Regions from separate parts of the Homo sapiens genome. Here region 2 is linked to region 1. The links are contacts of gene promoters, found by promoter capture Hi-C in human tissues and cell types (Jung and others, 2019). All regions are on one chromosome and are shown on one strand. The core of a region is centred on a gene start or on the middle of the fragment in contact, and the rest is flanking DNA. Distances in the headings are between cores, read along the strand shown. Region 1 holds the start of PLA1A (phospholipase A1 member A). Region 2 overlaps POGLUT1 (protein O-glucosyltransferase 1).

Region 1 (3,135 bases), core at 213-2,712:
GCTTCTCTAGTACCTCTTATTCTTTACAGGTGTTAGCTCGATAAATCTCTTGCATATCTTGTCTTACCTTGGCATCTTCTTCTCCGAGGACCTGAACTCATACACTTGGCTTGGTCTCTAATATCAAGACAGCTTTCAGTAGTGACCTCTGCTGTGCACTACTTATTGCCACACCCCTTCCTGGTTGCAGCAGCACTTGAGCAGTGAGATCATGTGCACAAGGGGATGTAAGGGCTAGCCCCTCCAAAATAATTGTATCCTGCGTTCAGCCATGATGACATGGTCCCAGAGCCTCTTCAGGAGTTGTTGCTGTAGAGTATCGTTGCTCAGAGCATGGATTCTGGGGCTGGCTCATCCCGCTTTAAATCCCAGCTCTGCATGACCTCAGGCAAATGACTTAAATTCTCTGTGCCCTACCAGCTGTGTAAAACACAAATGTTTGTATTTAATACAAATTACTTCTATCACAGAGAAGTAATTTGTACTTATCTGTGCTTACTAACTGTGTAATTGTCACAGTTAAGTAATTTGTATACAATTATAATACAAATAAGTAATTTGTTGTACAAATTACTTAACTTCTCTGTGATAATACTCACCTCAGAGAGTTATTGTTTGGAAAAGATGATCCTGGCCCTGCCAGTGGGCTGTCTACCTCACAGCAATGTGTTATGATTTAGGGAGTGGGGGGCAAGTGCCCTGCCCTCTGCCTCTGCCCCATTGACTTGCCTAGAAATAGCTCTTTGTGGTTTCTGCCACTCTTTGGGGTGGAGAGGCCATATGGTGCTGGAACCATCTTGGTTCCAGGCCCGGCTCTGCCACTTCCACCAACGGGATCTCTACAGGTCATTTTCTTTTTCTAATATGCAGTTTCTTTGTGAATTCAGGAAGTTGAACATCTCCAAAGTTGGACTTGACTCCTAGCCCCAAGATTCTACAAAATGATAGTACTCTCCAGAGGAAACTTTTTCTTCCCTTCTTCCCTTTAAATGGACACTTAATATATAGTATTATCTCAGTCTTGTGCTAGGCACTGGGTATTCAAAAATGAAAAGAGAAAGCCTTTGCTCTCAAGTCACTCAGAATCTTCTAGGGAGACACACATGTCCACAGATAATTCCAACACAATGAGGGGTTTCTGGCCACCCAGAGATGCAGGACTTCTGCCTTGGTTATTACTAACATCCTATCACGGGAAGTGGGAGAGGTGCAGGAAATAGTTTCCTGATCATGTTTGGCTCAAAGAGGGACAGTGTGTTTCAATGCACTCTGGTTAACAAAAAAGAAAGTGTATTTATTTTCATTGAGAAGAAGAAACCGAAAACTCTGGCATTTAAATAAATAAAGAAGAATTTATTTTTCCTTTTCAGGTCATGAGGCTAGTTAATGATTAGTGAAATCCACGTGGGTGTTTTCTGAGAGGCTGGGTTATATGATCTCTTTGGCTTTAGGGAATTACTCCATACCAGCTCTGAGATTTCCAGCTCAGCGATGCCCCCAGGTCCCTGGGAGAGCTGCTTCTGGGTGGGGGGCCTCATTTTGTGGCTCAGCGTTGGAAGTTCAGGTAAGCCAGGGCTCAGGCCTTGGGAGGAACTTATTTCAGTCAGTGATCATATTTCTCCAACTACTTATGCAGTACTAACTTTTGGAAGATCCCCTAAAAGCCTTTTGCCTCTTCTGAGGTGAATTTAAAACAGTAGGGGAAAAAAACCCCTTTTATCATAATCGGAATGATGGTAAACAGGTCACAAAACCTGAACTTTCCCTGGTTATCCGACTCATTTTTCTAAAGCCCACATAAAAAAACCCTTTCTCACCTTGCACAAGCCAGGACCAACTGTAAGAAAATAAAATTTGGTTAATTCTAAGATATTCATTTTTCACCCCATAAATATCCACCATTCCAAGATATATTTAATTTTAAAATTTAGGTTTTCCAAACTAATAATGATTTTGTCACTGAGATTGTTAGATGTCCTTTCTAATCCAGCAACCTAACTCAAGTGGTTTGTCATCCTGGCTGGGTGATGGGAACTAGTCCCTGCTAACCTCAGATGCCCCTGGGAAAACTTCCCTCAGATGCCAATTTGCATTTACCTTTCCCCCAGTAAAGAACTGACCCACTGATCCCTCTTGCCTAACAGAAAATTAACCTGCTCTACTTTGGGTTCTCAGAAGTTCTCAGAAGACTCCTTCTCACTATGGTGAGGTCACCCTTAGAAAAATCCCCTCCCTCTACTCACAATAGCAGGCTGCTTTTCTGTCTTCTCCGCTGGACATTTAATTCTCATTCCCTGGCTCTAGAATATGTCATTGCTTCTGCCTGGGGTTGCTCACATCACCTTTGGATTGATTTCTGTTCTTTGCATCTTTCAAGGGGGCTTCTGTATTCCTATCTCCCTTGTACTCATTCTTTTTCTGCTCAGCACCCCTCCCTGCTACAAAGTTCCACTGGGTGACTGCATGCTCTCCTTGCACTCATGGGTGGTTTTTCAGAGGTGCTGTTGAGCTCTGTATGTGCTTTCTCCTACCTCAATTAGTTGTCCCTAAAAGGTGAGGATTTGAGGCTTCTGTCTCTTTTAGCATAGTTAGTGCTGTGCTCTGTATAGAGCAGATGTCCAGTGAATATTGCAGACATTGATGCTTAGAGGAGGCAATGGGCTGAGCTGATGGGGAATAGGCTCTGTCTGGGTCGGGCTAACCCAGACTGGAATCCTGGCTCTGTTTCTTTGTAGCTATGTGACCTTGAGGAAGTGGCTTTCTTTACCTGTAGCTAGAGATGATCCTTACCAGATAGGAATGCTGTAAGGACTGAATGGGATCATCTGTGCACAGGGCCTGACTTTTGCAGTTGCTTATTCCTTTGTGATTTTATTATTAGCAAATTGTTGTCTAGGCTGATGGAAGTGGAGGGAACAGGGCTGTCATGAGCCACCTTGGAGAGAAGGTGGGAGGTATCACCTAGGAGAGCTGTGGGTCCCGTTCTGAGAAGTGGGCTTGGCAGGCCCACTTTGTCCCTGCTCAGGAGCCCCAGGCCTCCTTAGGGGCTGGAAGGCATTTGCTAGTTGTCCTGATTTGAAGGTTGAGGAGTGGGAGGACTATAGCAAATTGGCATCAAACTCTTTTTGGAAGCTC
Region 2 (3,134 bases), core at 522-3,021, 110 kb before region 1:
TTTTTTTGTTTTTTTTTTTTCCCCTGTGGGCAATCTCTGAAAATTGATTAGGTTTTCCTCATTCTCCTCTCTACACCAGGGGTCCCCAACCCCCTGCCATGGTACTGGTCTATTAGGAACCAGGCTGCATGGCAGGAGGTGAGCAGTGGGGAAGCGAGCATTACCGCCTGAGCTCTGCCTTCTGTCAGATCAGCCTTGGCATTAGATTCTCATAGGAGCACAAACTGTATTGTGAACTGTGTATGCAAGGGATCAAGGTTGCGTGCTCCTTATGAGAATCTAACTAATGCCTGATGATCTGAGGTGGAACAGTTTCATCCAAAACCATCTCCCCCACACTACCCATCCATGGAAAAATTGTCTCCCATGAAACTGGTCCCTGGTGCCAAAGAGGTTGGGGACCGCTGCTCTATACTTTAAGAGAAGAGGGTGATGTCCAGGAAGCAGTGGAGACCTTCGACCAGATGGGGTACACTAGAGGAAAAACAAGGCTTTGGGAGGCCATGACTAGTTAGAGACATTAGGCCTAGAAAAGCTTGTGAAATTTTTTTCACTCGTTTTATTTTATGTTTACCATTGAACATTTATTTTCTCAGATATGTTCCAAATCTACAAGCTGTCATTTCCTTCTGAGCCCTGTATACACTCTACCCGGCACCCAGCTCCTGACCCTATCTAGTGCTGTCTGGAGAAAATATCCCCTATTTTTCCTCACCCTGCCATTCCCAGAACAACCTGTAGTCCTAGCCCTGGTAAAGTGGCTGATAGAAACCACTTAGGAACATATTAATGTGTCCTTGAAAACTCAAAGTGGAAAGAGAATGGAGAGGAATCATAAAAGGAAAGAAGGGGAGGGGAGAATAAGCATAAAAGGTCATATTTGTGGCAGCAGGCATATAGTATCAAATGTATTTTGTTCTTTTTTCCCCAGGTATCTGTTTAATTTTCGAGGCGTAGCTGCAAGTTTCCGGTTTAAACACCTCTTCCTGTGTGGCTCACTTGTTTTCCATGTTGGTGATGAGTGGCTAGAATTCTTCTATCCACAGCTGAAGCCATGGGTTCACTATATCCCAGTCAAAACAGATCTCTCCAATGTCCAGTAAGCAGTTATCCCCCAATGCAGAGTTTCTAAAGACCCTTCCAATCTGCTTTTAAAAATGCCTTAATGCCTTAAAACCAGTCATGTAAGACATTTAGTCCTACGATTTTTTTCCATTGAAAGCTTTTTTTCCTCTTGGTTTGCATATATAGTATTGCATTATTATCCAAGTAGGCTATAAGTGGAATTTAATTTGAAAAAGCGCTTTAATACTGGTTTCAAATGAAACGTTCAGACAAAATGAAGTTAAAAAGCTCTAATCTCTCCAAGACTAAAGATAGGGATATTCAATCTTATTATATTGTCAAAAGGATTTTCAGATACAGCATGAGAATTGACTCAAGTGAAGCTTCAGCAAATTTCCTTTCATGACAGGAGGAGCTAGGAAGAAGTATAGAGAAGGGCCAGAGTTATCTGAATATTGTTATCATGGTGATATCTGTGTATATATATTTTTTTTCTATATATAAATATATTTATATATAAATATGTAAAATAATATAAATATCTAATATAATATATAATATAAATATACAAAATATATGTAAATATATAAGGTAACTTCTGTATTTTCTCAAATATGTCCCAAATCTACAATAGGGTATCTTTAATCAGTGTGTGGGGGTTTTTTTTTGTTATTATTTTGTTCTTGAGAGAACCCTGATATCTTTGCTTGAAGGAAATAATCCACCATCCACATACCTAAAATTATCCATAGACCTCAATCTATATCGTCTTTCTGACTTAGTGCCAATGAAGTTGGTCTATATTTCACAGTCTAAAATTCTTTTCATTTTAGAGAGCTGTTACAATTTGTAAAAGCAAATGATGATGTAGCTCAAGAGATTGCTGAAAGGTGAGTTCTGTTCATTTTCCCTTTTCCACTTTACTTTTTGTCATCCCCATTATGCCCTAGCCAAAGTTATCTGAATATTGTTATCATGGTGACATCTGTATTTTATCCTCATTATATGGAGATAATTCAGAACTAAACCTGTCCTGGGGGAAAACATACACACATGTCTACATATGCTTGTTTTAAAGGAAAAAGATGGGCCGGGCGTGGTGGCTAACGCCTGTAATCCCAGCACTCTGGAAGGCCGAGGTGGGCGGATCACCTGAGGTCAGAAGTTCAAGACCAGCCTAGCCATGGTGAAACCCCATCTCTACTAGAAATACAAAAAAATTAGCCGGGTGTGGTGGTGCGTGCCTGTAATCCCAGCTACTCGGGAGGCTGAGGCAGGAGAATCACTTGAACCCGGGAGGCGGAGGTTGCAGTGAGCCAAGATCGCACCATTGCGCTCCAGCATGAGCAACAAGAGCGAAACTCCGTCTCAAAAAATAAATAAATAAATAAATAAATAAAGGAAAAAGATTGTTAAGTTGTATTGCTACATGCATGTATGTGGATATGATTGCCATAGGGTTGGTTCTTGAGGCTCAAATGAATTAATTTATATAAAATGCTGAATAATGCTTGGCACAAGGTGAGCACTCAAATGCAGACTGCTATTATCATTAAATTCTGTGCTTTAACATTTTCTTGTTAAATCTTGTCTCTAGGGGAAGCCAGTTTATTAGGAACCATTTGCAGATGGATGACATCACCTGTTACTGGGAGAACCTCTTGAGTGAATACTCTAAATTCCTGTCTTATAATGTAACGAGAAGGAAAGGTTATGATCAAATTATTCCCAAAATGTTGAAAACTGAACTATAGTAGTCATCATAGGACCATAGTCCTCTTTGTGGCAACAGATCTCAGATATCCTACGGTGAGAAGCTTACCATAAGCTTGGCACCTATACCTTGAATATCTGCTATCAAGCCAAATACCTGGTTTTCCTTATCATGCTGCACCCAGAGCAACTCTTGAGAAAGATTTAAAATGTGTCTAATACACTGATATGAAGCAGTTCAACTTTTTGGATGAATAAGGACCAGAAATCGTGAGATGTGGATTTTGAACCCAACTCTACCTTTCATTTTCTTAAGACCAATCACAGCTTGTGCCTCAGATCATCCACCTGTGTGA

What was found. Contacts are between HindIII fragments. The study calls those that stand out against the background at their distance.
Region 2: a fragment that was not itself captured here is called in contact with the fragment with the promoter of PLA1A in region 1 in 2 of the 25 tissues and cell types used here (H1 embryonic stem cells and spleen).

The regions. Positions count from the first base shown.
Region 1 is chr3:119,596,423-119,599,557 of GRCh38, forward strand. It overlaps PLA1A (phospholipase A1 member A), which reads left to right and starts at 1,463. Exons shown (of 11, transcript NM_015900.4): 1 at 1,463-1,564. The coding sequence starts at 1,492. RefSeq lists an enhancer at 2,142-2,331. The HindIII fragment of the contact is 21,246 bases long and covers 1-3,135 here.
Region 2 is chr3:119,489,620-119,492,753 of GRCh38, forward strand. It overlaps POGLUT1 (protein O-glucosyltransferase 1), which reads left to right. Exons shown (of 11, transcript NM_152305.3): 9 at 932-1,099; 10 at 1,899-1,955; 11 at 2,663-3,134. The coding sequence ends at 2,819. Among named protein-coding and RNA genes, the nearest start is that of TIMMDC1, 7.4 kb to the right of the region's middle. The HindIII fragment of the contact is 5,887 bases long and covers 1-3,134 here.